Linked DNA regions of Homo sapiens: region 1 is linked to region 2. The links are contacts of gene promoters, found by promoter capture Hi-C in blood cells and fetal thymus (Javierre and others, 2016). All regions are on one chromosome and are shown on one strand. The core of a region is centred on a gene start or on the middle of the fragment in contact, and the rest is flanking DNA. Distances in the headings are between cores, read along the strand shown. Region 1 overlaps NSUN3 (NOP2/Sun RNA methyltransferase 3). Region 2 holds the start of STX19 (syntaxin 19).

Region 1 (5,169 bases), core at 227-2,726, 58 kb before region 2:
CACAGAGCTGGAGAGTTAAATAATGGTCATCAGTGATAGTCACAGTTCCTCAGAGCCCTAGGATTTTAGAAAGATTTATATATGAGGATATAACAAAAGTTGTTGGGAGAAAGTGAGAGAAAGAAAAAATAAATAAAAAACAAGATGTTGGAAGCAGAGACTACTAAAAAAAGTTTGAAAAGCAGAGGTTTAAGCAATGTGATTAACACAATCCTTAGCACATACAAAGTGTTACAAAATGGTTATTATTTTCATTCCCACAAAGAAGATGAACCTAATGCAGGGAGTTCAGAGAAGGCATTCCAGGAAAATTAAATCCTGAAGTATAATCTGAAGGATGAAAAGGAGCAGGGGAAGAGAAAGGAAAAAGAGACACCTGTAGAATGTGCAAAAAGGACTAGAGATGAAGAAGCAGGAAGGAGAGCAAAAGCAATTAAACCAAGAAAGGAGTCTTTTCAGTCTTCTCTACTAACCAGATATCAAAAAGTTATCACTATTGGGCTCAGTGGCTCACATCTGTAATCCCAGCATTTTGGGAGGTCAAGGCAGGCAGACTGCTTGAGCCCAGGAGTTCGAGGCCAGCCTGGGCAACATAGTGAAACCCCATCTCTACAAAAAATACAAAAATTAGCCAGGTTTGGTGGCATGTGCCCAGTCCCAGCTACCTGGGAGACCGAGGAGGGAGGATGACTTGAACCCAGGAAGTCAAGGCTGCAGTGAGCCAAGATCGCACCACTGCACTCCAGCCTGAGCAACAGAGCAAGACCTTGTCTCAAAAAACCAAAAAAGTTATCACTGACATCAAAGAGATTTTCATGCCTAGAGGGACATAGCCTTCAGCCAGAAAGTTGACTAAGACAATCTACCAAGCTGGGTCATCCTTAGTTAATATGCTAATGTTTTCCCATTTAGAATCCATATTGTTTGCTCTTTTTCTGCCAAGACCAGGACATTAAAAAGGCTATGTTGACAACAACCATGGTGAGTCCATCAATGTGGTAACAGGTGAGAGCAGCTGAACCAACAGAAAGTAGACTCTTTTTTTTAAATCATCCTAAAACATAAGCTTTGTAATCATTCAAAGCCATGAGCCTCTTGGCCCAGAATAAAGGTCAGTACTGATCTAAAGAAATTTGGTGTACAAATGCACATTTAGTGCAGCCATCATTTTACATTTTGCTTATAAAAGCTTTGATTAGTATTGCTTCTACATTCCAAATTCAAGCACTGTAGCTAACCTAACTTGGGCTTTAAGCATCAGCATGAAGACATCTGTACTTCTTAGTAAATCATTATCATTAGTCCTACTTAGATGAAAAGCTACTTTACTTGGAACACTGCCTGTAGTTCATTGCCCTTGATATAAGAACAGGAAGATTCTTCTCAACTTCAAACTGCTAGAATATATCAGTTTGCCTTTGGGTTCCTAATCAAATCAACTTTGCTACTATAAATGTGTAAAATATTTATAGCCTACTAATGAGGATAATTTAGAATTAAAATGCCCTCTCTTCAAAATGGTAACCAAATTTGACATTTCCCTTTCATCCTTTATAATACTAAAATTCCATATCCTGAATTAATTAGTATAAGCCTTTTAACTTATAAAAACAATGTCAAAGGACATAGAGTAGAAGTAAAAATAAGTGCTCCTTATAACATACAATTCCACAAAACTTCAGCTCAAATTATAAAAATAACGAGGTAAACTTGTAAAATAACATTTTTGCTGTGATTTCTTATTTTAAAATACAGCAAGCTTCAATAGCTGAGTTTTAACCAGAACTCTAAAACATTGGGCATATTTCCTCCTAAATATACAGTTAACTGATATATTTGTACCAATGCCTAGTACAACTGGATTCACGTTTCTCATAAAAGAATTTTAAATCTATTTCAACAGGGAATGCTCTCATATAAAAGTATAAAAGCAGTCTTCAAACTGGAACATACATGCCTTGGGGATACACACCAATGTTCTAAGGGACAGGAAGGCTTGGACAGTTTCAAAAGAATCCATTTTCAGATCATCAACTTCCTAAAGGAGGAGAACACTTCCAGTGGGGCATCTCCTTTCACAAGGTCCTTCACCAACTTTACAAATGACAAGCAAGCTTCCCACACATCTAGAATCTTATTATGGTAGAATGTGCCAGGGTATCGAAACCTCCAGAACATCAAACAAGGGCAGTTCAACACATCAGTGTTTTGGCTGAGGAAGTGAATAAGTCAGCCAGGCACAGTGGCTCACAGCACTTAGGGAGGCCCAGGTGGGCAGATCACTTGAGGTCAAGAGTTTGAGACCAGCCTGGCCAACATGGTGAAACCCCATCTCTATTAAAAATATAAAAATTAGCCAGGTATGGTGGTGGGCACCTGTAATCCCAGCTACTCGGGAGGCTGAGGCGGGAGAATCACTCGAACCTGGGAGGCAGAGGTTGGAGTGAGCTGATATCACGCCACTGCACTGCAGCCTGGGAGACACAGCGAGACTCCATCTCAAAAAAAAAAAAAAAGGCAACACTGCCTTTTGTAATTGAGATGGTGTCACGTCATTTGCTTTCAACAAAATTAAAAATGGACTTAAAGAGTGCTTACCTAATAGATCTTTAAAATAATGCTTGATGAAAGATCTGTATGTGATCTGAGGCTACAAATCAGGAGTGTGAAGAAACAGTAAAACAACTGTAACACAATTTTCTCTGGGACAGGATCTCACTCTGTTTCCCAGGCTGAAGTGGAGTGGTGCAATCTCAGCTCACTGTAATCTCTGCCTCCCAGGCTCAAGCAATCCTCCTACCTTAGCCTCCCGAGTAGCTGGGACTACAGACATGCACCACCATACCCAGGTAATTTTTTGAATCTTTTTGTACAGACAGGGTTTTCCCATGTTGCCCAGACTGGTCTAGAACTCCTGAGCTCAAGCGATCCGCCTGCCTTGGCTTCCCAAAGTGCTGGGATTACAGGCACGAGCCACCGCGCCCAGCCAACATTTCCATCTTCTTATCTGTGTGAACAGCACTGGCATCTATAAAAACAGAACCATCACACAAAAAACAGACAGAATTGATGCTGAACTCTGCCTCTTCTAGTAGTAGGTAATATTTATTCGGGGAAGCCTGTATCAGTTTTTTAAAAAAAGAATTAGCTTTAAAAGAAAAATTATTAAGAAAAAAATTGTAAATTTTGTAAATATTGTAAAAATTGTAAATGTTGACTTGTTACTTTTAACAAATATTTGTAAACCTGTGTATCACTTTGGTTCTAATAATAATATTAATGAAAAAGTCACTTGAAAAGACTTTTTGGATTGTCCAATACTATACCCTCTTCTCACATGTGGCTATGAACACCTGAAATGTGGCTAGTCTCAACTGAAATGTGATGTAACTGTAACGTAACCAATTTTAAAGACCTGTAAAAAAAAGAGAGAATGTAAAATATCTCATTATTTCTATTTTGATTACATATTGAAACAATATTTTGAATGTATTGGTTCAATGTATTATTCAAATTAATTTCACCTGCTTCTACTTTTTAAAATGGAACTACTTAAATATTTAAGGGTATATATATACTTCACATTATATTTCTACTGGAAAGAATTGCCTTGGAACCTTATAGTCTATTGACATCAAAAATTATTTTAAATGTATATGTTTTTGTTGCAGAAAAGTATGACAGGGATATCTACATAAGACTCTCAAGTATAAAGGTAAACAATAAAAAATACCTATCAGGCTTATCAGCATTCATATTATCTGACAGATTTGTATTTGCGAAATGTTGAAGTTTTGTTCCCAATCACCTGCTAGAATTAAATTGCTGAAAAAAATGTTATTTATACTGACTTCCTCAGCAAAAATTTCCATTCTTCTCCATAGCATCTCAGTTTTCAGGCTTCCTGAGTTTGCAAACTCAGTCTTACGTTTCTCCCCATATATACTTTCAGAATTCTCTATAACATACAGATATTAAAAAGTTGTCAAATACTGAAAGGAAAGCACACTACCTGGACAAGCACACTGCAGCAGAGCTATTGATTTCCCTCCAGGAGCAGCACAGAGATCCAGAACCTTCTCCCCATCCCTTAATTCCAGAGCCAACACTGGGAGAAGAGAAGCAGCATTTAGGAGATAATATTTTTTCAGGTTTCCAATTTGGTGTCTTTCTGAAGGGATTCGGCCCGGAGTTCTGCTAAGGTAACACTTCACTGATTTAGGATAGTTGGGTAAAGATCCCTGAGAGAGTGTGTGATAGCCCTTCAAATGTAAATCCTTTTCCAGTTCAAAAGGATAATTGAATCGGTTAAGCAGGACAGCATATTGCCAGCATGATGGAGATGTTAGTATCTCCCTAGAAATAGAAAAAGAGAAAATAAGAGAATATTAATATGATACATACCAATACAATTTTATATTACGAATCAGGTGAATGTGGTCCTAGTTTTACACTTCACTTACCTGTGATTTTAAGAGACAGGATCAGTATTCCTGACTCTTCCTTTTGCCTCATGAGCCTCTGACAGGACTGAATCCAGCATTGTTATGATCCTGTCTTTATTTTAAAAACTGGTATTTCGTTCACTGTGGCTTTTCAAAAACTAATTGTGATCACTGAAATATTACATTATTGAGGCAAGAGAATAGAGTCTGAAGACAAGGAACCTAAGGCCATTTCATACTGACTTCCGAGAACTAAATTGAAAGGAAAACCCTAACTTTCCATCATGCCTAAGTAACAAAAGAACCAGGCGCTACTCCCTTTGCAAACCCCCACATTTTCTGCATGGCAAATGGGAAATTGAAAGTACCTCTAATTTGTTGCTTTTTGCAACCAATCACACGCTTGCATAGAAGTGGAACTTTGTAACTTCACTTTAGTCTCTGGTTGCTGTCCATAACCAATCAGATATTTGCACAAGAGTGTAACCTTTGTAACTTCACTTCAGCCTCCGTTTGGTTGCTTTCCCCAACCAATCAGACTGATTGCGGGCCACCACATCATTTACATGAGGTAAGCACCAAGTGGCCAATGGAAAACCTCTAATGGGTGTTCGGACCCAAGAATATTCTGTATCTGGGGCCCTTGTGGCCATTCTCACACTGTGGAGTGTACTTTCAGTTTCAATAAATCTCTTCTGTTGTGGCATTCTTTCCTTGCTTTGCT
Region 2 (4,938 bases), core at 1,086-3,585:
AGTACTGGATTACAGGCATGAGCCACTGTGCCCAGCCTTAGATCTTATTTGTATCTCTTTTTACTTATGCTGAAAACTACAGTTTCTAATGACATTATTTGTTTTATCCAACTATATATAGGAATTTTAACATAATAATATCAATATGATTACTAAATATTAAGACTACTAAGTGCAGGTTAACATATCTTTGTGGTTACGTATCTTTGTCTCTACGCTATATCCCACTAGAGATGCAGAGTCAATAATACTGTTTTAAAATTACTTAAAATAGTACTTCTCTGTGTGGTTTTGCCATCACCTAGATATATACCTAGGTTCATTTCTTTCTAGGTGCTTTTGCATTTTAGAGATCGTTTGTGTATTTGTTTTAAGATTTAATTTCTAAAATATTTATATCGGCTGGACGTGGTGGCTCACACCTGTAATCTCAGCACTCTGGGAGGCCAATGTGGGTGGATCATTTGTCAGGGGTTCAAGACCAGCTTTGCCAACATGGTGAAACCCTGTCTTTACTAAAAAAAAAAAAAAAAAAAAATGAGCCAGGCGTGGTGGCGTGCACCTGTAATACCAGCTACTCGGGAGGCTGAGGCATGAGAATCGCTTGAACCCAGGAGGCAGAGGTTGCAGTGAGCCGAGATCGCGCCACTGCACTCCAGGCTGGGTGACAGAGTGAGACCCTGTCTCAAAAAATAAAAATAAAAAAATATTTATATGGTTCTAAATTCAGAACTATAAAAACAAGGTACAATCAGAAAGGAACTATTTGCTATCTCTCTGCCTTTTCCTTCCCTTCCCTTATAGGTAACCATTTTCATTCGTGTTTAGTTCATCCTCCCATTATTTCTTTTTGAAAATATAAACAAGCGTATGGAGAAAATGGTATTTCAAGGACCATAATTTGGGCACTGTGAATATTCAATGCTATTGACTGGTTTATGTATTTGTGTATATATACAATATTTATATCTACCCTTCCTTTCTTCCTAAAACTTAGCATATTATATATATTCTTCTGCAGCATGCTTGTTTTAACTGAACAGTAAATTTTGAAGTACCCTGAAGCAGTATAATAAAATCTTCACTATTTTCTATAATTGCAAAATGCTCCCCTTTGAATGTTCCATCATTTATTCAGCCAGTTCTACGCTGAAGGACTTTTGTGTTTCCAGTGTTTTGTTTTTACAAAGAGTGCTATAAAAAGTAGGTGTGTAAAGGAGTCATTTCTTATTTTGAGTACAGATTCCAGGAAGTAGAACTGTTAAAACAAAGAATAAATATAAATGTGATTGGCCGGGCATGGTGGTTCACATCTGTAATCCCAGAACTTTGGGAGGCTGAGGCAGGTGGATCACCTGAGGTCAGGAGTTCGAGACCAGCCTGGCAAACATGGTGAAACCCCATTTCTACAAAAAAATTAGCTGGGCGTGGTGGCAGGCAACTGTAATCCCAGCTACTTATGGGGCTCAGGCAGCAGAATTGCTTGAACCCGGGAGACGGAGGTTGCAGTGAGCCAAGATCGTGCCACTGCACTCCAGCCTGGGCTACAAGAGCAAGACTCCTTCTCAAAAAAAAAAAAAAATAAAAAAAAAATAAATATATATATATATATATATATATATATATATATGATTTTGATAGATACAGCAATTTCCTTCTTCTTGCCCTCAAATAGTAACAAGTCAGGTAGAAAAAATGGGTCTGAAATTTGGTAGTACAAGAGAAATTTTCATTTTTAATTCTTCCTATAAACATTTCCCTCTGGTATAAATTAATTTTGAGTTGTTATATTGACAAAATAAATGATTTAACATATATTGCTGGATAACTTTAGTTCTATATAAAATTTATTTTAAAATAAAAACAGCAGGCATAATAAAAAGTAAAAAAAATTAAAAGTAACGTGGGATGAATGGTTTACAGACATGAGCTCTTTCCTGGATGTTCTCCTTCTGAAATTCTATGATTTTGTGAGCTAAGCTCTTTTGGGATTTCCTAAAATAGGACAGATTTCAACCATTTTAAAGTAAATGGAACAAAAAAAGCTTTTACACCAAGCTTCTTTTCATTCCTATTTAATTCCATATTTTTAGTAAGTTTTGATATCTATAGAAAAGAAAGTAACCTTTGTTTAAATACAAACCCATTTTCTTGGAATAATATATTACATATACAATGTAGGACTAAATTTGCAGATCCAGTGCCAAATACTCTACGTAGGCAGTTTAACGAGGACTTCCTGTTACCGACTAGCTCCAATGAAAATGATCTTCCTTTAATCTAAAGAATAGGCGTCTAACAGGCAGAACCAGATTCTCCAGGTGTGAAGTAAGCAATCTATTTTCACTTGCTATTAACAGCAAACGTACAACTTTATCTCTTATTTGACTTCATTATTTGGCTTTCAAATTAACAACATGAAAACTATACAGAAATTAGTCTGTGCCCTATAAGACAGAGATTTAGATAATTTGTTCAAAACATGAGATGATATTCAGATATTCTCTCAAAGGCAGGACTCCAACACCGCAGGTGGAAAACCAACAAAAGGAAGAAAACAGAAAGGTAAATAATGACTCTTTTCTGTACTTTTTAATATGAGGTATCCATAGACTGACATCTGGTTACACTGTTACATTTAAAAATCACTCAACAAATAATGAGGGTTACTTGTTTTGCTCAGATTTGGACCGGGGTACCAGTAGCTGATTTGTTCACATATATTACTGACATGCTGACTGGGATCTGGGTATAAAGCTCTTGAAAATAGACTACGATAATAAAAATCAACTTTAGAGGAAAGAAAAAATTTTTAAGTCTTTTAAAAAGTAAGCTCTCATTTAAAAAATACTAGAAAGTCAGATGTAAAAACAGATCTAAAATTATTTCTTTTATAGACAGACTATGAATGTGCTTACTTTAGAGAACATTTTTATATTTCACTCTGAAAAGCAGCTTATACCCAAATTTGACACATACGTATAACCTTAAAAATCTGAAATAATTTGCTATAATGGTCTTAATTGCTTCATTGTTGTTTACTAGAATCTTCTAAAATTGAAAAAATGAGAAAATAATCTTGTGAAAGGGCTACCAGAAAATATCGAAGTACTCACTAACCTTTATAATATTTCAACTAGTACATTAAAAATACTTGTTATACCATTTAACGTAAGTGTTAGCATTTAATTGATAGTTTGAAAAATTTAAATCAGCATCATTTAAATACAACATATGTAGATAGGTTAGATACTTTCAAAGTTATAATTGTTACTATGTTAGAATTTAATAAATATTCCATTTCAAATCAAAATAATAATGACTTTTATATGTATTTTAAAGGTGGACTTGAGAATTGGCCACGTAATACCTCGAACACATTATCTTCACAGCTATGCAGTTTTAAATGTAATATAAAAATCATTTTATGTATGTACAGCTTACTTGAATCAGATAAAAGTTCAAAAATTATACATCATATTTAAACAAAAATGATCTTAATGTTGTTATACAAGTTAATTCAATAAGTTATTTAGACTAAATAAAATGTAGAAAAAAGCATTGAAAGTTTACATTGCAAAAAAAGTCAGATACTTCAAAATTAGACAATATATGCAATTTGCAATTTTTTTTTAGTTTTTAGAAACTACTATTTGGCCCTCACTTTAGTAGCCAAAGAGGTTAATATATTACAATAAGATCCTCTGCTTTCACTTGCACTAGAAAAATGTGGCAAGTTGACTTCATATACAAAAGCAACAGAATATTCTGTTTTCTCTTGGGTAAAAACTGGTCATATTTCTTGAAATGTTTTATTTAATCATTACAGTAACTATGAAAAGAAATGGCCTACTTTAAAAAAATCTATAAATACACTAAGTATCTATCCCAGGGCATATTTCTAAAAGTACAAGGTAATTTTTACTCATGTTTCTGTTTCTAGGGATTTTCAGTGTCTGTAATAGGGCAGAGAACCTTTTATTTGAGTCGCACCAGTTTACTTTTCTATTTCCCAGAACAAGTTGTCCAAGTTGATTATCATACATACGAGTTAGTGTTCTTTCTTTTTTAAATATCATGTTTAAGCTCACAGATACAGTTCTTGCTAGTAAAATTCAAAACTGTATAGCAATGCTGCAAGTTAAACATAATAAAAGATGATTCATATTTGTATATAACTCTTCCAACATAATAAATTTAAGGTACATAACAGACTGCATAAAATAGTAATTTCATCAATTTCACCTAGTCTAAGCAATTAAATGATTTCACAACTATGAGCTTCATATTTTATGCTTATATGAATCCTGTCCTTGCATGTTTTAAATTCTAACATGCTTATTTGTCTCATTTTGCCTAACATTCTAATTCATGAAGATATAAGATCAATAAATTGGATAGTTATACATATAGTTATGAGTATGCAACTACTAGAAAATGTAATTTATATACAGCATATAAACATATTTGAGTACCTATCAAGTCAATTTCTACACAGATGAACAAGGATTTAGGGAAACATTCTCAATTATGTTAATTCTATAAAGATAAGCAACTGTGACTTTCAGTCAAAATGCACAGATACAGAAGTTACTCCCTCTTTCTCTAAACATACAGAATTTGATGTAATCGTAAGTTTAAAAAAGACAAATTTTAAAACAACATCACTAAATTTTAGAGTAAAAAAGCGAAGTTTTCTCCTGGCTCACACGGTGAAACCCCATCTCTACTAAAAATATAAAAAGTTAGTCGGGTGTGGTGGCGGGCGCCTGTAGTCCCAGCTACTCTGGAGGCTGAGGCAGGAGAATGGCGTGAACCCGGAAGGCGGAGCTTGCAGTGAGCCGAGATGGTGCCACTGCACTCCAGCCTGGGCGACAGAGAGAGACTCCGTCTCAAAAAAAAAAAAAAAAGAGAAGTTTTCAGGTGCCAGAAATGATG

Evidence for each region. The method cuts DNA at HindIII sites, captures the fragments that hold promoters and counts their contacts. A CHiCAGO score of 5 or more calls a contact.
Region 1: a contact is called between a fragment that was not itself captured here and the fragment with the promoter of STX19 in region 2, in 2 of 17 cell types (total CD8 T cells and activated CD4 T cells). The highest score is 5.5, in total CD8 T cells.

Annotation. Positions count from the first base shown.
Region 1 is chr3:94,083,294-94,088,462 of GRCh38, reverse strand. It overlaps NSUN3 (NOP2/Sun RNA methyltransferase 3), which reads right to left. Exons shown (of 6, transcript NM_022072.5): 3 at 4,013-4,356. Among named protein-coding and RNA genes, the nearest start is that of NSUN3, 23 kb to the right of the region's middle. The HindIII fragment of the contact is 570 bases long and covers 1,192-1,761 here.
Region 2 is chr3:94,025,994-94,030,931 of GRCh38, reverse strand. It overlaps STX19 (syntaxin 19), which reads left to right and starts at 2,335. Exons shown (of 2, transcript NM_001001850.3): 1 at 2,335-2,565. The region is part of intron 3 of ARL13B (ARF like GTPase 13B); the gene reads right to left. The HindIII fragment of the contact is 4,986 bases long and covers 2,061-4,938 here.